Linked DNA regions of Homo sapiens: all the other regions are linked to region 6. The links are contacts of gene promoters, found by promoter capture Hi-C in blood cells and fetal thymus (Javierre and others, 2016). All regions are on one chromosome and are shown on one strand. The core of a region is centred on a gene start or on the middle of the fragment in contact, and the rest is flanking DNA. Distances in the headings are between cores, read along the strand shown. Region 1 overlaps SLC44A3-AS1 (SLC44A3 antisense RNA 1). Region 2 overlaps ABCA4 (ATP binding cassette subfamily A member 4). Region 3 overlaps SLC44A3-AS1 (SLC44A3 antisense RNA 1). Region 4 overlaps ABCA4 (ATP binding cassette subfamily A member 4). Region 5 overlaps ABCA4 (ATP binding cassette subfamily A member 4). Region 6 holds the start of ABCD3 (ATP binding cassette subfamily D member 3). Region 7 overlaps ABCA4 (ATP binding cassette subfamily A member 4).

Region 1 (2,890 bases), core at 304-2,803, 390 kb before region 6:
ATATATCAAACATTGCATAATAAAAACTGTAGTACACATGGGGTATATACTAAGTTATAAGGCATAATGACATGAACACACCTAAACTCACTACCCAATTAAATAACTAGAATATTCCCATAATGCTTCTCCTTGGACACAACTCCTGCTAAGCTTTCAATCTCAGAGGTAACCACTGTTCTCAGTTTTGTTTACCCCCTTACTTAAACATACCTTTTTTTTTTTTTTTTTGAGACGGAGTCTCACTCTGTCACTCAGGCTGGAATGCAGTGGTGTGATCTTGGCTCACTGCAACCTCTGCCTCCTGGGTTCAAGTGATTCTTGTGCTTCAGCCTCCTGAGTAGCTGGGATTACAGGCACGCACCACCACGCCCGGCTAATTTTTGTATTCTTAGTAGAGACGGGGTTTTGCTGTGTAGGCTAGACTGGTTTCAAACTCCTGACCTCAGGTGATCTGCCCGCCTCGGCCTCCCAAAGTGCTGGGATTACAGGCATGAGCCACCGCGCCCAGCCTACTTAAACATACTTATTATTTTAGATTATTTCACTCCTTAAATAACATAATTTAGTTTGCTTTTTAGGGGATATTACAAAAAATGATGGTGTATGGTAGGGAGTCATCTGGAACTTTTTAACTCTACACTTTTTTTTAATGTGTGATTTTAAAGTTGAGGTTGGCTAAACATTTGGAATTTATGGACATAAAGATGGCAACAATAGAAACTAGGGACTATTGGGGGAGTGAACGAGGAGAGCAAGGATTAGAAAACTAACTACTGGTTATTATGCTTATTACCTGAGTAATGGGATCATTTGTACCTCAAACCTCAGCATCATGCAATATGCCCAGGTGACAAACCTGCACATGTACCCTCTAAATCTAAAATAAAAGTTAAAAAAGGCCAGGTGCAGTGGCTAATGCCTGTAATACCAGCCTTGTGGGAGGCTGAGAGGGAGGATTGCTTGAGGCCAGGAATGCAAGACCAGCCTGGGGAGCATAGCAAGACCCTGTCTCTTGCTCTCTCTTTTTTTAAGTTTAAAAAAATAAAAATAAAATAAAATTGAGGTTGGTTCTTTATAGACTAAACCAAACAATCTAACCATAGACTCTCTGACCATAGTATAGAAGGATAGAACAGTCAGACTGCTAAGTCCTTGAATTCTACTGAAGATAAGATGTATGAACTGCTGGGGACTGGTTGGTCTAATTTGTTGGCTTTCTTTTGTCTCACCATTTCCATTTAGTTGGATATTAGTGGTGTTTTTATGTTAATCACATCTATTGTCTCCTACATTTCTGCATTTGTGCAGGGCAGAGCCTTCCTATGAACAACCTCAAGAAATTTCCTACTTACCTTCACCAAGCATTTCTACCTGTGTCTGGGATGCCTCTTGCTGAAGCACTTGCTGGCACTCTGAGACACTCTGAGTACCAGTCTTGAGAGACCATTTTCTTCTTTCTGTGTCTTTTAATGAGTAATGAGAGTTCTAGCAGGAAGGCATTTCAAATTATTCTTTTATGGTGCTGGAGACTGAACAGAAGGGAGATTATGACCTGGTCTCTCTTGCATGTTCTGAGGAACGGTAGACCTGGAGGCGCTATTGAAAAAAATATCCTGTGGTTAGATATGGTTTAGAAATATTGTTCTGTATCCCATTTATTGCAGTGTTCATCAGTATACTAGAGATTTGACCAAAGTACCCGTGTGTGTGTGTGTGTGGTGTGTGTAACAAGTATTAACACTGGCCAAAAAAAAAAAAAAACGCAGCAGTTCTGGGTAGTGCTGTTAAAGACTACATTTTTTGACGACATGGACAACTTAATTTGTTTTGAAATATGCAGGGTCTTAGGTAAGTGGGTGGAATGATTGTCAAGGCACTTGAAAAGCCCTCCTCTCTCGTGCCTACCCTACCTGATTAATGTACCTAAAATGCTGTCTTAGAGAGGACAACTTTTTAACACACATTGGAGAAAAAATTAAAATACAAATGGCCCTGGGAGAGGGCATTTGAGTAATAAATCCATAATAAGATGTAAATGACTAATGCCAGATACGTTTCTTATCTCAGGTTTTTAGAGGAAGAGAGCTACACCACAAGGCCACCAGGGCTTCTGAAGGCTGAGAGCAGTGTCATGAAAGGCAGGGCAGGGGCCCACAGGTCAAACCGCAGCCTCTGTTTATCTTTCCCAGAGCCAGCTTACTGCAACATTCAGTGAATTTTATGACCTGCAATGTTCATTTGTTTAACTGGAAATGTAAAACTACATTTTCATTTTTTTTCTTTTTTTGAGATGGAGTCTCACTCTGTCGCCCAGGCTGTAGTGCAGTGGCAACCTCCACCGCCCAGGTTCAAGTGATTCTCCTGCCTCAGCCTCCTGAGTAGCCGGGATTACAGGTGCCTGCTACCACGTCCAGCTAATTTTGTATTTTTAGGAGAGACGCAGTATCACCACATTGGCCAGGCTGATCTTGAACTCCTGACCTCGTGATCTACCCACCTCGGCCTCCCAAGGTGCTGGGATTACAGGCGTGAGCCACCACACCTGGCCTATGTTTACATTTTGACTGCCAAGATACCATCTATTTTTGTTTTTTGCCAAATATCTGAAATAAATGTCAACATTTTTTTTTTTTGAGACGGAGCCTCGCTCTGTCCCCAGGTTGGAGTGCATTGGCACAATCTTGACTCACTGCAATCTCCACCTCCTGGGTTCAAGCAATTCCCTGCCTCAGCCTCCCGAGTAGCTGGGACTACCTGCATGCACCACCACACCCGGCTAATTTTTTGTATTTTAGTAAAGACTGGGGTTTCACCATGTTGGCCAGGATGGTCTCAATCTCCTGACCTCGTGATCTGCCCGCCTCAGCCTTCCAAAGGGCTGGGATTA
Region 2 (2,896 bases), core at 61-2,560, 360 kb after region 6:
AGTTAAGTTTCTCTAAGTTGGGTTTTGGTTTGCTGATGTAGGAACACAGAATGCTGGGGCCGTTTCAACCTAATGGTCTCCCAATTAATTTTTTTAACATTACTGATGACTGTTAGGAGTCTAATGTGCTACTCCTCCCAGGGAAAATGGCATTCCTAGGATTAAAGGAACTCAGCACATGGAGTGTGCGTAGAAATTTAGACACTAACTGCAGGCTGGTGGGAGAGAGCCCTTTAGGGCAGAATGAGAAGGCGTCCGGCCAAGGGCAGGAGTTACTGACGCATGGCCTCTTGGTTTCAGCATGGAAGAATCCTACATTACAGCGACCCATTCATCCTCTTCCTGTTCTTGTTGGCTTTCTCCACTGCCACCATCATGCTGTGCTTTCTGCTCAGCACCTTCTTCTCCAAGGCCAGTCTGGCAGCAGCCTGTAGTGGTGTCATCTATTTCACCCTCTACCTGCCACACATCCTGTGCTTCGCCTGGCAGGACCGCATGACCGCTGAGCTGAAGAAGGCTGTGGTGAGGCCCTTGGGCTGGCCCCTGTCCTACAACACGTTTCCTTGGAAGGGTCCGTAGCAGTCCTGGAGGCCCAGCCTGCCCTCTGAGGGGGTCCACTTTGCCTTTGACCTAAGGTTAAAAAGTTCACGTGAGGCTAAAATGTACAGGGGCAAAAGTGGGAGCAGTCCTCACCCCGAGCGATGCAACAGTGACTCCTCACCACGCCTGCTTGATTCATCTGCCCTGGAAAGTCATTAAAAAACCAGTTCAACTCATGGGTCCCTTTATTTACTCACAAGAGAGAGCCAGCAGCCCATTTCACTAGTTTTCCTTTCCTACTCTTTGAGAAGAATCAGAAGGGAGGGAGCTTGCCACTTTACTATCTGTCTAAAGAGATGTTTCCATTAATTAAAGGTTTTTGTTTTGCTTCAAAAAAACTTGAATTGGAGTATTTCCACAAGTATCTTTAACATGCTCTACCAATGTTTGCAGAAAGAAGTGCAGAAATGAGACTGTCCACAGAGTCAGGCTCGCTGGCCAGGAGAGGACTCCCGAAGCTGACTTCTGATGGCCTGAGAAACTTCCTAGTTCACAATTCCCAGACCCAGACAAAGAGCACTGTCTTTTCTCTAATTGTTTTCAAATGGGCCATTTCCACCCTCTAATCAGCCTCTGGCCCTGGAGGGTGCAGTTCCCCTTGTCCTCCGGAGTCTCCCTGTCTCTGTGCTGTAGAGTCAAGAAGGGACAACCACCTGCCCTCACTGGGAAAAGACAGAAAGTCTGACTTGTTCTCACGACTCACACTTATTAGGCTCCAGAGGTGTCAGGGCATCTGCCTTTCATTTCTTAGGTTAAATAAGAAATCAATTGCTGCCATTTGTAGTACCCAATTTTCTAAAATGATCACAATGGATAAGTGGCAAGAAATCCTTATGACTCATCTGTGGGCAGAGTTGGGCTATTTTGGTAATCCTTGAGTAGGCAGATGGAATTTGAGGCCATCTTCTTGGGTACATAGATCACTAGGAAGCTATAGGTCTAGCAACTGTGGATTAGGGCTGGGCTGAGAATTGTTTCATGTTTTTTGTGACTGTATAGCTAGAGACTCTCTTGTTTGCAGAGAGACACTCTGAACTCCCCCTGGCCGTCAAGGGAAAGACTGCCTTCACCCTCCTGAGCTGACCTTACACTGAGAGACAATGGGGACCCTCTTTTGGCCCTCCCCTCTACCTCGAGGGCATCTGGGTGCTGTTGCATTGGATAAAAGGCACTGCTCTTTTTCTGTGCCCTCTCCGCCTCACTGCAGAGCTTACTGTCTCCGGTGGCATTTGGATTTGGCACTGAGTACCTGGTTCGCTTTGAAGAGCAAGGCCTGGGGCTGCAGTGGAGCAACATCGGGAACAGTCCCACGGAAGGGGACGAATTCAGCTTCCTGCTGTCCATGCAGATGATGCTCCTTGATGCTGCTGTCTATGGCTTACTCGCTTGGTACCTTGATCAGGTGTTTCCAGGTAAGCATCCTCCTCTATAGGGTAAAGGTAATTGAGTTCTTCAGATCCCCAGCCCTCTCCATTCATCTAGTTTAAATTTCATTTCTTCCAAGCTCTTTGTCAGAACCAGCATTTGAAGTTTAAATCTAGAAGTTAAAAATCCACCAGCAAATCCTACTGGCTCTACTTGAGAAACAAATCCAGAATCTGATCTCTTGTCACCACCTCCACCACAACCTTCCCAATGCCAGTCTCTTCCTTCCACTACCACCTCCCATCAGTCCATTCTGCACACTGTATTCAGGGAGATCCTTTCAGAATCAAGGTCATGTGGTGTCAGCCCTCTCTGTCAAATGCTTGCACTGGCTTTTCCTCTCTTTCAGAGTAAAACCCAGTGTCTCAACCCTGGCCTCCAAGCTGCTTCATTATCCGGCCTCCAACTCTCTTCTTCATCTTACGATTTTCCCTACTCCTCCATGTTCCTCTGCTCCAGCCACGTCGGCCTCCTTACTGACTGTTTAATACACCGAGCGCATTTCCTCTTCAGGGCCTTTCCACCTGCTGTTCTCATGCCAGAAGCACATTTCTCTCCCCACAACCTGCAACCCGCCCCTCATATCTGCAGGCTTGCTTCCTTACTTTGTTAAGGTCTCTGTTCAAATGTCCCATTATCACAGGGATCTTTCCAGACTGAAGAGATCTACATAACTATGGCTCTGTAAACAACATTCCTCCAGGGTTCCTGTCCCCTTACCCTACTTTATTTTGGGGAACATTCTTCACCATCTGATACAATGATGTATCTTATGCATGTATTTACTGACTCTCTGCCCTTAGTAGAATATGAGCCCAGAGAGCATGCATGTGGTCTATTTTGTTAACTGTGACAGTCCCAGTGCCCAGAA
Region 3 (2,700 bases), core at 8-2,507, 360 kb before region 6:
CACTGACTTATTCACACCCTGAGAATGACCCTATACGGCAGATGCACCTGCCAGCAATGACTTAAGAAATGAGGGTTGCCACATGGAGGTTGTCGGGGGGAGCGTGCTAAGTGAAGGTGCTATCTAAACTACATGCTTTTTTCAAGCAGTTACAGTTTCCTGTTCAGTCTTCCACCACTGGACTATTCCTGTATGTAATTTCTCCCTAATAAAACCCCGTGTCTCGTTTGCTGGCTCTGGGTCTCTTGTTTGGCCTCTCAGACATGGTGCCATTCCTATTGGAGTCAATAGGGATCTGGCATGACACCTACGTTCCTTAAAACCAATACAATTAGTATGCTTTTATCTTGTTAATCTGCCTGGTGTCCATTTGGTTTCTAGTTCTAGCCAAAAATACCACCTAAGAACTTAAGGGTGTTGGGGTTGCTCGCTGACTCTCCTACAATCCTGTGCTCATAAAACAAGGAAACAGAAATCTCAGATATTCAATACCTAAATGTTTATCTTAAAGCAAATTCTACTTATATGGTTTCATTCTTTGTTTGGTAACCTATCCCATTTCACTTTATTTTTTTGGATCTCTTTTCTCTCATTTTCTGTATTAAAACCATTCACAGTAACTTGTATAGCCCTTCATTTGGAAGAGAACGTGGACTTTTTCTTTTCCAAATCATTTTAAATCAACAGCTCCTCAGTGAGTGCCTCCTAAATTAAGATTAAGGCATGACCCCTGCCTTCATGGTGCTTACTTTACGTGGCTGTAGGGACAGACAGGAACCCCAGGGCATATGAGATTGCAGATACTCCCAACAGAGATTTTGATGAGCACATCAGAGCATCAGTGGCTTTCGAGCTAGTGTAAGGATGAGTAGAAATTATTTTTAGACACTCCTTAGGTAGAGATGGGGAAAATCATTTTAGTTTAAAAGAATAGCAGTGGCAAAGGTGGGGAGGCATGACCTGTTTAGGGCTGGATGAGTACTCCTGGGATGGGGTACAAGCTGGTATCATATTGTGGAGGCTCTTGGATGCCCTAAGATGTTGCATTTTTTTCAGTAGGCAGTAAGGAGCCATCAGTAGTTTGTAAGGAGGGCAATGTGATCTCAGCTACAGAGGAGAATGACCAATGAGCAGCCATATCAGTGACCTAGGAGAGGCTCAGGGATTCATCCCTTATCTCCCAATTCCCTACTGAGGGTGAGGCACTGTGCAGATGAGCGGCACAGAGCCAGGCCTGCAGGCACTGGCAATCAGGCGAGCAGGCCATGCATAGCTGTAAGGCACCATCATAAATGTCTCTACCTAGTTCAGCAAGTGCACAAAGAAAGTGGGGTATAGGGTCCCTGGGGAAGGTGGGCATCAGGAGAGCTTTCTAGTGGAGATGATGCTTGAGCTGAGATTATTTACAGGGCGAGGAAGATGTTGAAAGGGAGAGAGGAGGGAGAAGGCATTTGCAGGAACAAAGCATGGAGGCATCAGCAGCGTGACCAGTTAGCCGGACTTGCTGTGTGTGGGTGTGTGTGTGTGTGTGTGTGTGTGTGTTTAATACAATTGTTTTGCTTATTTAAGTAATATTTGTTTGCTGAAGAAAATGTGTCAAATATAGAAAAACTAAAAGAATAAATCTATAATCCCACTACTTGGAGATAATCATTTAAAAAATTAGGTGAATATCTTTCCATTTTTATGTGAGTGTGTATGTGTTTGAATAAGAATAAATGTGTGTGTGTATACATATATATAAATGTATCAATAAGTAGAACATATATGTATGTGTTAATACAGCTTCATCTTCTCTCTCTTTGTATTGAATGTCCTGCTGCATCAGCTATAGGGATAAAATAAGGTTACATTTCTTTAATATTCAAACAATACTGACTTGAACATCCACCAGCCCAGCCTGACAGGAAGTGTAGTCTTCCCTGGAGGTTCTCAAGTAATCTCTAAGAATGTGTAAGAAATTGCTACTTATTCCTCAACCTGTCCTAATAGTGGCTGCTTCCATCTGCCTACTGATGATATGTCTAAGATTTAAGTAGGAAAGGGAAATATGGGTAGATTAGTCTTTCCAGCTAGAGTGAAAACACCTCATGGGCCAGGAACCATGTCTTTCTTGTCCACTGCTGTACCCCCAGTGCTTCAGATAAATACCCACCACATAGTAGACATTCAATAATACACTAAATGAATGAATGGATTCAAACCTCCACTTATTCAGGCAATTAACATTTACTGAAGATTTTTGATGTGCTGAGTTCTGTGCTGGGGATTAGAAGTGTACATGCAAACAAAATAAAACTTTCATCTTTGATGGGCATGAAGATAAGCATTTAAAAAAACAAACAAACTCAGCTTCCATGGGAGTCAGTGAGATTCTTAGCATCTGAGGTATTCAAACAGACACCAAAGACTACTGACCAAGACTGTAGAAGGGATTCTTGCTTGGGAGAAATGCTGGACTTAAATGACCATTAATGACCCCTCCAAATGTAAATTCCTATGATTGAATGAATTTTAGCTAATTGTTCCTAACTTATTAGTCATAACCAAACAGTTCACAGAAGGACTCCAGAGTAAATACAATTACAAATGAAAAACAAATGTTCTGATGGGATCCAAATATTTGTTGATAACAAGTGAGATTTCTTGAGAAGCCTGCAGAATGTTGTTCTCAATAGGAGACATAATTTTTAAATAGTA
Region 4 (2,700 bases), core at 4-2,503, 420 kb after region 6:
GCTCAGATATGCCTCCTACAGAGAGCCCCACCCACACCACGGTCCCTACCAAGTCCCCACCACATCCTCATCACATCCTTGCTAAGTCCCTGCCACTGTGTGTTCTGTGCTGAAGAACTTTTCATTCAGTAGTTGTAGGGGTTCCTATTGTAATCAGGAAACCATCTGGATAGCATGGGAGAGCATTTTTGAAAAGAACTTTCCCATGTTTTTGCTTACAGCAAAAAAGCTTGGATTTGGGGAATAAGGAGCAGAGAAGGTAATAGAGAATATTAGAATGTTTTGGGTGCTTGACATCTATGTCTGGACATGTGTTTGAGTTTCAAGGGAAGGGACTTAACTGGCACATCATTTCAGTGTCAGACACATTTGGTTAGATCAAGGAATAGCATCTGTTGTAGGAAGAGGGCTCTTTGTTCTTTATAAAAATTACAAGAAGATGGAGAAAGAAGCAATAGGAGGTATGTCTCCTGGCTTGTGATAACTCTTGGAATAGGTGCTTGTAGGTTCCTGCCCTGGCACAGTGCCCCATGTAAGGAGCACACCACCCAAGAAGGAGAGAGCTAGAGCAAGTACTGGAGGAGGCACCAGCATCCCAATGCCTTGGCTTAAGCCTGGGATTGTAGAGGGATGAATTAGCCACTCTCTTCTGACTTACCTGGAGAGTAAATCAAATCAAATCAAGAAGCAAGGATATGCAAAAACCTTATTTCCCCATAAAGTTTTTATTCTGCCCAGTTTCTGGATTGCAAGAAAAACCAAATACAGCTAATGATTGAAACACTGCTGTCTAAAGCAGTGCTTGTGATGAATTTTTTCCCTTCCTCTTGACCAGCAGAGACCTAATGGCTACTTGGCAAAACTGACTTTGTCTTCCCACCCCTTACCTGCCAGAGGGCCCAGAAATGCCTAAGGCTCCTTTAGTTACAGAAAGTTTGCTTTTACTGAGATCTTCCAGCCACTGATTCCCATTTATAGATCTGGTGATTGCTGTTGACATCAGTTGAAAATTATTTTTAAAAACCACTTGCAGTTGCAAATCCTTTTTATAACTCTGTAACTCAGAATATAGAATTGGGTAGCAAAATTGTTTCCCAGAATTACCAATGGTCTCCCCACCCCTGCCTGGCATGTTCCCTCTTAAAGGACTAATCCCACCACATCACCTCTGGGCCAGGCAGAACATCAGGGGTGCTGATGTTCTGTGATCTACAGCAGTTAATTCCAAACTTTTCTCCCTTATTGGATGAGATCATTTTTCTATTGTGTTTTTTACATTTTTGTTCACAAAGATTAGAAAACCTGCAACACACTTATTGGCATATTTTTCTGATAATTTTCATCCAAAACCTAATTCTGACTTTACAACATACTATCTTTACAAAGGTTTGCAAAAATTCTTTCATATAGCATTGTATATGTCTGTCATGAAATAATAGTAAGTATATTATTGTTTACATTATACCACTTCAAAATAATTTCCTTTAAAGTATTCTTCAAACAAGAAAAAGGCAATTTCTCTCAAGAAGTTTTAGAGAGAATTTACAACTTGCTCCTAAGCAAATGTGAGAACTTCAGGAGGTTCATCTGGCCATTGGCTTTACAACTCCAAATTGTGAGCCAGGACCACACAGATATTTCTCTAGAAATCAGCGTTTGCTTACCAAGAACATTTTTACTCTCCAAAGGACTCCATCCTGGAAAACATGTTTTGGGATAAGGTCTTATGCAATCTTATACTCTGTTATTAAAACCAGTGAGGGTCAAGGTGTTAATAGATTAAGTAGTGACAGATGATCAGACAACTTAGAAACATCCTAAATAGGTTAATAATTATGTGACCATCGCATGTGCATTCCCAAATTAGGAACAACTCAGATCAATTTCTAATCCTTATTCTTACACTGTTCCAGTTCCCCCATATAACTCGTATCTTTGTGTTAGTTTCAGAAGTTTCTGAAGTACCCTCAGCCTTGATGGGGATCCTCGCACCACCTCAAATCCTGTTCTCAGCCCTAAGAACTGTGTTAGTCATCCTCTTAAGAGGATGTGTGATTTTAAATCAGATAATGGGATAAACCACATTTCGTCTAGACTGGTCAGGCCTTTGTCCAGTCCCCTCCTCGCCCACACTACCCCAGCTCCACAGCGGGCATTGGTTCAGGAATTCAACCCACACTTTATAACTGGAGACAGTATCTCTCCAGTTAAAAAGGTCACCTTGGTGTCCGCTTCTCAAGGAACATGGACATCTTTATTAATCAAAGCCCAAGCTTTGATCTGGAGCCTAATATCCTGCACTCCAGCTCTCATCTCTCCCCTCCCCCAGTCACACTTTCATGCTTCCCAGAGCCACCCCTACAGGAAGTGGTCAAGGGAATTCTATACCTCAGGGCTGACCTAAATTAGGATTTCTTGGCTTTTAAGATAATGGTAACTTTCTTAAGCTAAAAAAGCCCCAAAAGACCCTGTAAGAGCCCTTGGAAACAGCACCATGGGTGTAGCTTCCCCCCAGGATGTAAGCATGTATGCACACATCTCGTATGTGTGTCTTTGTAACAAATGCCTGGATCTTAGTACCAGGGAGACCTGATTCATAGATTTCATAGAGAAGGAGAGAAAGATGGCCCATAACCTGGGTGATCTGACAGAATCACAGTGCCCTCAGCTGAGTGCCCTTCAGAAATTGATTGACAACTG
Region 5 (2,700 bases), core at 201-2,700, 410 kb after region 6:
GGAACATTTGCCTCACCACGTGCCTGTGTCCCCAGGCGCCTCAACCTTTCCTCTCCTCATTAGCTCTTCCCAGTTCAGAGGGTGGGACCGGCCAGCACATCTGCACTGCTGCCCTGCCACACCCACCTCCACCTGCCTCTGGGCCCCACTGGGGAACACAGGACAAATCTGTGCGGAGGCCCCACCATGAACCGCCCAGACCCGTGGACCCCTGAGACTGACTCTTTCCAGATCTTGTTAGGGTTTCGTGGCTGCTAGGCAAGTAACGAAGCCTCATCTGTCCCATGAATGATAAGAAATTCAGCATGTCAGAGTCAGACTCTGGAAAGGCGGGGGGATAAGAACACAGCCCCAGCAGATGGCCAGAGCACCCAGGTGACTGAAAGTGCTGCTTTGCAGAGCTGTGTTTGCCACAGGCTCACAGCCCACTAAGTCTTAAGACAGTTTTCCTTCAGAATAATTAAATAGCCAGCTTAAAGCAACTCAGAACATTTTCCCCTCTGAGGCTGCACCCATTTAGCCAACATTTGCTAAGCACCCGCCTTCAAAAACCTGGTATTTTCATGTAAATTATCCGATACACAGCTGCTATGGAAACCCCCAGTATCCCACAGGAAGCTCCCCAGCTCCCAGCAGCTGCCGGCCCGTGTGAGATCAGGAGGTCTTTACCAGCTGAACACCACGTGCCGGGTGTGTGCTGATATAAACAAGCGTGGCCCACTCGTCCTGCCCTCCAGAGGCTCCCGTTCCAGTCGGAAAAGGACCTGCCCACGAAGTTTGCAACGATATAAGCCACAGTGTATGATCCTCCATAATACAGCGTGTGACAGAGCAGCAGAGGAGCGAGGCAGATAACATGCTGCAGGCCAGAGGCAGCGGGAAGAGCCAGGCTGCAGGGGCTGGGGGAGCCGTGGTGGAGGAAGTTCAATTTCAGCCTGTAGATTTCTATTAGCCCATTTAATAAATAATGAAGTGCCTACTCTGAGCTAATCATTGTGCAGGTATTTAGGAAGGACAAAAAAATAATTAGGACTCAGTGCCCACCCTCCAGGGGCCCACTGACTAGTAGAGAAAGTAGGCAGATTTTTAAAAAATTAATCATGGGAATGTGATAAGTGCTGGGAGAGAGGAATGGATACTTTCTCATGGGAATCTTGGAAGGCTTGTAAGGGAAGGCACTCTCTGAGCCAGCTGTCTAAAGAAGAACAGGAATCTTTAAGAAAGCAGAAGGGAAAAGAGCATTCTTTCCTGCTTGGAGCAATAGGTAACAGCCTGCACATGCCCAGGCCTAGAGGCCAAAGAGCACAGTGATTCCAGAAAGAGTGGGGAGAAAGGGTAGGCAGGGAAGGATGAGGTAATGTGGGCGCAGGTGTGGAGGCTGGAGAGGGAGGAGGTTGTGGGACTGGGAGGAGCCAGATGGAATGGACAGCAGTGGCCCAGCCAGGAGCTATGCTGGCCTCGTACGCCTCGATGTCCCTTCTATTTTCTCAGGGGAGGCTCTGCCCAACATGCCAAGTCCGACCACTTGAAAACAAGTCCCTGGCTTAACACAGACCCCAGAGAGAGTCTCCAACCCTCCTCTCCCTAGACAATGGTAGTTGCCCTGTGAGGGGCTGAAAAGCAGAGCTGGAGATGGCTCAGGGCCTGGTGTTAACAAATGCCTTGAGGGCTCCTGTTGTTTCAAAGTGAGTCTGCAGGGAGAGCTCCCTAAGTGGACAGCAGGAGGGCTGCAGCTTCTCTGCACATTCCTGCTGTCACCCCCAGAGTCACCTAGGGGAGGGGTAAGGACAGTAATGCAGGTTCCTCACAGTTAGCCTCGGTGCCCACATGGTACTGAGCATAGTAAATGTTTAGAAGATGCTGCCTGGCTAGACAAAGGGGAAGCTCCCGCCCACTAGAAACTTGCAGGGAGCCCCAGTCCTTGATTGGTCATTTAATTGATTAGCTCCTTGGCCTGGCCTTGAGGCACTGCTTGTAAGTACTTCATGACCTCCATTGCAAACCCATGATGCTCTGCTGGACAAATCCCTCCAGTGGCCAGTCTGGCTGCAAGGACTCTCTGTCTGCAGGCCTTGCCCTGTGCTGTCCTGTGAGAGCATCTGGGCCCCACCTGCTGAAGAGAGGGGGGGTGGGGTTTGCCCCGTTTCCAACAGTCCTACTTCTCTGTTTCAGACGCTGCTCAGGTTCAACGCCGTGCTGAGGAAGCTGCTCATTGTCTTCCCCCACTTCTGCCTGGGCCGGGGCCTCATTGACCTTGCACTGAGCCAGGCTGTGACAGATGTCTATGCCCGGTTTGGTGGGTGGTAGCCGAGGCCCATGGAGCATGGGCCCTGGGTCCAAAGCTGGGAGGGTTACCGGGGGGGCTCCTGCATCAGACTGTGGCAGGGGCTGGTGCTAGGAGGGGACCTTGTTGGGCTGGAGGTGTCCTGCCAGCTGGAGAGGATTAGGGTGCCTCTGTTTCCATGGCTGGGGAGCCACAGGAGGGATGGAGGGCAGCCCTTATGAGGCGGGTGTTTGGCTCTTGCTCAGTTCCCACATAAGGCCTGGTCTAGTGGGCCCTGTGCTGTGGCCAGGTCTGTGGGGTGAGCTGGGGCGGCTGAAGTGGACTCAATTCCTGTTGATGCCCAGGTGAGGAGCACTCTGCAAATCCGTTCCACTGGGACCTGATTGGGAAGAACCTGTTTGCCATGGTGGTGGAAG
Region 6 (2,700 bases), core at 169-2,668:
TCAACTCTGTTAAATGGATTTAGGAAGGAAAAGAAAGATCATCACTTCAGACTCTAGTAAGATAAAAACAGAAGGCGGCTAGAAAGAACTTAATGGAAAGGGTACTATAAACTAGAAGTCTATTTGTGTTTTAGCCCAAATTTTACTACTAATTAGATATTGTAGGCAAATCAAACACGGGAGGCAACAGTACCTGCTCAGAGGAATGAATGAAATAAAATTCATGAAAGTAGTATGTCAAGATTTAATACGAAATATTCAATGACTGGCAAGAACGCTTGGGAAGTAGCCTTTTCTCTTTCACTTGTCCAGCAAATAAAAATTGCATGTATGTGACATACATACCTGTATGTCGCAACCGTAATTCAGCTCTCTCTTTTTTACTTTTTCTGAACTGATAACCTCCCAAAGTTAAATCTAAGCACTGAAATTCTCCCGCGGTGGAAGCAGTGGCGTGTCATTAAAAAGGAGCTTGATCCTCACCTAAACCACACTCTCATCTTTCACCTACAGAGCCCAGGAAGGAAAACATTTCCCTCTAAGTCCGACAGAACCGATCCAGCCTTTCCGGATGAAATGCCACCGACCAAATGTTCACCGACCAAAGGGTTCACCGACTCCAAGGGCTCACCACTTTAGACGGCAATCCTGCCAAGTGGACCGGGAATAGTTTCATAGAAGCCACCCTCGCGACTTTCAATAGCAGTTAGTCGGGAATCGAGCCAAACCTCGTCCAAGTGACTTAGACACCAGCCTCCAGCCTGGCGAATCCAATCCCCATCCTCAATCACACATCCACGTCCCCAAAACAAATCCTTCACGGTCTGAAGATGAGATGGCAAAACCAGAACACACCCAGAAAGTTGACACAGAAGGGGGTGATGTAGGGAAGGGGGTGGGGGACACACCGCATCCCCCTCCCACCCCCAACTGGAGGCCGCTGCCTGAGTGCTGGCTGGGCGCCGGTTCGCCCGCGGGCACAGAAGAATTCGCACTCCCGGGGTGGAGCGAGGTCGCCGGACAGGCCAGCTGGGACCGACGCCGTCGTGGCGGGGACTCGCGGACACCCTGACATTGAAGTCCCACGGCAGTCGCGGTCGGCCCTCTCTCCGCCCGACCCCGTCGGGCAAAGAGACCTGTCGGCCGGGTGGGGAGAGAGAGCGCGCGGGGAGCGCCCGCTCCAGCCCGGGAAAGCTGCACGGCTACGGGCCTTCTTACCCGTGCAGGCCGAGGGCGCGGCGCCGCTTGTGGAGCAGGCAGAGCAGCAGGAACGCGGCACCAGCCAGCGAGGAGTTTCGCGCCGTCAAGTACTTGCTGAAGGCCGCCATGGCACTGCCGGTACCAGCGAGCCGGCGAGGGGACGCGGCGGCGGCGGCGGCGGCGGCTACCTTACTGCACGCAGCGCGGGGGAGACTGGGAGGAGAGCAGAGGGCGGGGCCGGCCGCGCAGGACCGCCCCCTGGCTCGCGCCGCCGCGCCGCCCGCGCTCTGGAGCCCACTTTGTACTTTGGCCCGGCGGGAGCGCGCTCGGCAGCCTCCGTGGGCGGAACAGTTCCCGGGACGCGCTCTGCGCACGCGCGGACTCCTTCAGGGTCTCCGGAAACGCGGCGCGGAGGAGCTGTTGCTACTCAGCCCTGCGAGGCGTCAGTGCTGCCCCTGCCTCACCCCTACCCTCCCACTCTTCGCGCGCACACCCCGGCTTTCACAATAACTGGATGAGCGGGCCTGGCCTGCAGCGACGACCTAGTGGGCCCTGCCTCTCCACTCCCGCGGTGATGTACCGTTACCACCCTCTTAAAGGAGCCCAGGAAGGAGGCGGACGGCCCCGTCACAGAGCGTGTAGGGAAAACACAGCACAGTGATTATCAGGACGAAACCAAACAATCGGAACTCCGCAGAGGTGTAGGGAGATGTGAGGAGAATGACACAGATCAAAGAGCTTTTTCCAAGCCAGTATTTTCCAAACCGCGGGTTATAATCTCTAGCGCATTGTGAAATTGGTTTGGTAGATCGGGATCATCACCCTCCGTTTTTAATAAAATTGAGAATAGAACAAAATAGAAAAGTTTCACAGTACATCACGTAGTAAAGGAGTTGTTTAGAGAAATTTCGATTTCAGTGTTTTGCACGTATGTATCGCCAGCGGCGATGTAAAATGTATGCAGATCTGGTCAGAAAAAAGTTTGAGAAACACTGTTCTTTGCAAAGGGACATTCAGAAGTAACAATCGTGCGTTGTATTAATGCTGGCCTCACTCCCAGAATCAGAAGGGCTTTGCAGATTACAACATTCTTCTCCTGTCTGACCCTATGTTGCAGGAATTGTTATCGCCAGCATTGAGCCTAGCATATATACAGTAACAGTGAATCGCTGTTTTCAGCTGAGGAAACTGGAGAAAAGCAAGTGTGTCAGAAAATAAGCTCATAAAACCTCGCATAATGCACATACATATTAAAGTAGCCTACAAAGTAGTGGTGCTGTGCCCTAGGTGTTTTCTCAATATAAATGAGCTGTTGCCTAATACAGGTTATGAGGATCACAAAGACGAGGTACAATAATGGCATGCGTATAGAGGTGCTCAACAGTGAATTCTAAATTATGCAGAACTGAAGCTCCTACTAATTCACTATTTGTCATGTGGACATTTTCATTACCTGGAGGGACAAAAGGTTTTGGCCCTCTGAAAGTTAACTGAAAACCG
Region 7 (2,700 bases), core at 27-2,526, 390 kb after region 6:
GGGAGTACCCCTGTGGCAACTCAACACCCTGGAAGACTCCTTCTGTGTCCCCAAACATCACCCAGCTGTTCCAGAAGCAGAAATGGACACAGGTCAACCCTTCACCATCCTGCAGGTGCAGCACCAGGGAGAAGCTCACCATGCTGCCAGAGTGCCCCGAGGGTGCCGGGGGCCTCCCGCCCCCCCAGGTACCTGACCTCCAAACAACGGGGCCCCAGGTCTGCCTGCCACAGAGGGACTAGGGGAGTCCCTGGTATCTCCTGAGTCTCTCACAAACTAACATTTCAAACTGGCAGTTGAGTAGGGGACTAAACCAAACTCCCTGCACCCTCTGGGAGGGGCTCCCCACAGGGCGCTGTGGCTGCCAACTGGAGGAAGCCACTCACCAAAAGCTTCATTTTCCACCAGATACTTCCTATTTGATCTAGTAGAAAAAATGTGTTTAAGCACTAAAAAAAATTAAGTCATATGTGCTCATTATAGAAAAATTAGAAAACACAGGTAAGTCAGAAGGAAAAAAAATCATCGCTTGGATATAAACACAGATAATGTTTGGTTTGCAGCCACCCAAACAGATTATATTCCAAATATTGTCTTAAAATCTGATTTACTGCATAATTTACTAGGAACATGCATCCATGTCAATAAATAGACATCTGCATCACTTTTAATATCTGTATATTATCCCATTGTTTGAATTTCTTTTTTTTTTTTTTTTTTTTTTTTGAGACAGAGTCTCTCTCTGTCACCCAGGTTGGAGTGCAGCGGTGTGATCTCGGCTCACTGCAACCTCTGCCTCCCAGGTTCAATTCTTGTGCCTCAGCCCCCCCGAGTAGTGGGGATTACAGGCATGCACCATCATGCCCGCCTAATTTTTTTGGTAGTTTTAGTACAGATGGGGTTTTACCATGTTGGCCAGGCTGGTGTTGAACTCCTGGCCTCAAGTGATCTACCCACTTCTGCCTACCAGAGTGCTAGGATTACAAGCGTCAGCCACTGCTCCTGGCCTAAAGTTACTTTAAATTAACTGATCTCCCATTATTCGCCACTTAGGTTTTTTAGTTTTCACCATTATAAGCAATGCTATGATGTACATTCAAATGGAAATGTGTTTACACACTTATTAACAGTCTTAATTAAGAAGCTCTCCATGTGCTGTGTCTCTAACATCTGCAGGTATGTACACAAATACATGCACAGCCAGCATCCATCTTTTGCAGGGACATTAATGATCTTGGCTCTGAGCAGCACCCTGTCCTGGGAGTTCTAAAGTCCAGAACAGATTACAGTGAGCATCTCCTGGGGGATTTAGAGACATCAAAGAAGGCTGTGTCCGTGGTTGATAATGGGCCTCCCAGCTGACTTGCCAGGGCTGGGCCTTAGACAGCCCTGTCCAATGATTTGTCAATGAATAAACTGTTCCCAAACAGGCTATGCAGTTCAGTGGGAAAGCACAGGTATGGGACACGGAGAGCCCCAGGTGGACTACTTGACCTCTCTGAGCCTTAATTTTATCACCTGTGAATTGGGAATAACTGCTTATTTCATAATATTATTATGAGGATTTAATGAAATCATGTGGGCAAGGAATTATTTAGAATTAGATTCAACTCAAGTGATGACAACCCCAAACTAACAGCAGATAAAACAAGACACAACTTGTTTCTCACTCATCTAAAAGTCTACGTGGGTGGTGCACGATGTTCTATTCTCTTTCTCCTCCACACTAAACAGGCCTCAGCCTCATCAGCCAATAAGGCAGGAGCTGCCTTCCAGGCAGCGGAATGGAAGAAGGATGAAGCAAAACAGAGGGCAGAGTGTGCACATGTGCTATGTTTAGGGAAGGTTTTCTGAAGTTCCCACATAGTACTTCCACTTACAAACCCAACAAAAAAGGCTATGGCTAAGGCAGCAGGGAGGAGCAAATAATGGGAGCAACTAGATTTTGCCACAGCACCTATCACAGTCTGGTTTATAAATGGTTCTAGGCCAAGAACACCCGATCCCTGCTCTTTTTTATATTCTAAAGCATGTATCTTTATATTTCTCAAGCAATATTTTCTCTCTTTGAATCACAGCTCATCTGCTGCATCATAGGGATCCCAAAAGAAGGACCCAAGGAACTTGTCTCAGTCCTCTGTGCCCCAAGAGGAAGCTTTGCTTGTTTGCTTTGCTGTCAATGCTGAGGGCTCCTGTGGCTGCCTCCACTCAAAACCCTCCAGCATCAGGACGTCAAGGCTGTGATACTGTACCCTGAGCTCTTGGCCAGGGCGAGGGAGGGGAGGCCAAGCCTACCTACATGGTGTTTCATTTCCTAAACGAACCCTTACTTCCACGCGGTCTGTCCAGCTTAGAAACTTATTTTCAGTAGTGTTGGTCCTTGGTCCCTGGACAAAATGTAACAGCCAAAGTCCTAGAAAAAGGCAAGCCAGTTCCTGCCATTTTCTTTCACTTCTGCATTTCCTCACTATTATACGTGCCTTCCATTGGAGCAAAACTGAATGCCACGCATATGCACAGGAGCTGTGCGCGCTCTGTCTCTCTCACTCACTCTTTTTCTCTCTCTCTCTTTCTCTCTCAATCTCTCTGTCTCTATCTATCTCTTACTCTTTATCTCTCACTCTCTCACTCTTTCTCACTCTTTCTCTCAATCTCTTTCTCATTCTCTCTCTATCTTTCTCTCTCTCTCTCTTTCTCACA

What was found. Contacts are between HindIII fragments. The CHiCAGO score rates a contact against its expected background, and 5 or more counts as called.
Region 1: a fragment that was not itself captured here is called in contact with the fragment with the promoter of ABCD3 in region 6 in 1 of 17 cell types (monocytes); the score reaches 5.4 in monocytes.
Region 2: a contact is called between a fragment that was not itself captured here and the fragment with the promoter of ABCD3 in region 6, in 3 of 17 cell types (fetal thymus, M0 macrophages and M1 macrophages). The highest score is 7.8, in fetal thymus.
Region 3: a contact is called between a fragment that was not itself captured here and the fragment with the promoter of ABCD3 in region 6, in 4 of 17 cell types (neutrophils, monocytes, naive B cells and 1 more). The highest score is 6.8, in neutrophils.
Region 4: a contact is called between a fragment that was not itself captured here and the fragment with the promoter of ABCD3 in region 6, in 1 of 17 cell types (endothelial precursors). The highest score is 5.1, in endothelial precursors.
Region 5: a contact is called between a fragment that was not itself captured here and the fragment with the promoter of ABCD3 in region 6, in 1 of 17 cell types (M1 macrophages). The highest score is 6.2, in M1 macrophages.
Region 7: a contact is called between a fragment that was not itself captured here and the fragment with the promoter of ABCD3 in region 6, in 6 of 17 cell types (M2 macrophages, fetal thymus, endothelial precursors and 3 more). The highest score is 10.1, in M2 macrophages.

What each region holds. Positions count from the first base shown.
Region 1 is chr1:94,807,532-94,810,421 of GRCh38, reverse strand. The region is part of intron 1 of SLC44A3-AS1 (SLC44A3 antisense RNA 1); the gene reads left to right. Among named protein-coding and RNA genes, the nearest start is that of SLC44A3-AS1, 11 kb to the left of the region's middle. The HindIII fragment of the contact is 2,796 bases long and covers 156-2,890 here.
Region 2 is chr1:94,054,227-94,057,122 of GRCh38, reverse strand. ABCA4 (ATP binding cassette subfamily A member 4) reads left to right here. Exons shown (of 50, transcript NM_000350.3): 15 at 301-522; 16 at 1,808-2,012. Among named protein-coding and RNA genes, the nearest start is that of ABCA4, 65 kb to the left of the region's middle. The HindIII fragment of the contact is 6,519 bases long and covers 1-2,896 here.
Region 3 is chr1:94,778,676-94,781,375 of GRCh38, reverse strand. The region is part of intron 1 of SLC44A3-AS1 (SLC44A3 antisense RNA 1); the gene reads left to right. Among named protein-coding and RNA genes, the nearest start is that of MIR378G, 34 kb to the right of the region's middle. The HindIII fragment of the contact is 3,150 bases long and covers 1-2,700 here.
Region 4 is chr1:93,993,322-93,996,021 of GRCh38, reverse strand. The region is part of intron 49 of ABCA4 (ATP binding cassette subfamily A member 4); the gene reads left to right. Among named protein-coding and RNA genes, the nearest start is that of GCLM, 85 kb to the right of the region's middle. The HindIII fragment of the contact is 2,044 bases long and covers 232-2,275 here.
Region 5 is chr1:94,010,858-94,013,557 of GRCh38, reverse strand. It overlaps ABCA4 (ATP binding cassette subfamily A member 4), which reads left to right. Exons shown (of 50, transcript NM_000350.3): 39 at 2,173-2,296; 40 at 2,629-2,700. Among named protein-coding and RNA genes, the nearest start is that of GCLM, 100 kb to the right of the region's middle. RefSeq lists an enhancer at 1,748-2,247. The HindIII fragment of the contact is 3,950 bases long and covers 1-2,700 here.
Region 6 is chr1:94,417,107-94,419,806 of GRCh38, reverse strand. ABCD3 (ATP binding cassette subfamily D member 3) reads right to left here and starts at 1,418. Exons shown (of 23, transcript NM_002858.4): 1 at 1,219-1,418. The coding sequence starts at 1,328. RefSeq lists enhancers at 827-966, 1,438-2,229 and a silencer at 1,297-1,676. The HindIII fragment of the contact is 10,166 bases long and covers 1-2,700 here.
Region 7 is chr1:94,026,933-94,029,632 of GRCh38, reverse strand. ABCA4 (ATP binding cassette subfamily A member 4) reads left to right here. Exons shown (of 50, transcript NM_000350.3): 30 at 2-188. Among named protein-coding and RNA genes, the nearest start is that of ABCA4, 93 kb to the left of the region's middle. The HindIII fragment of the contact is 1,763 bases long and covers 395-2,157 here.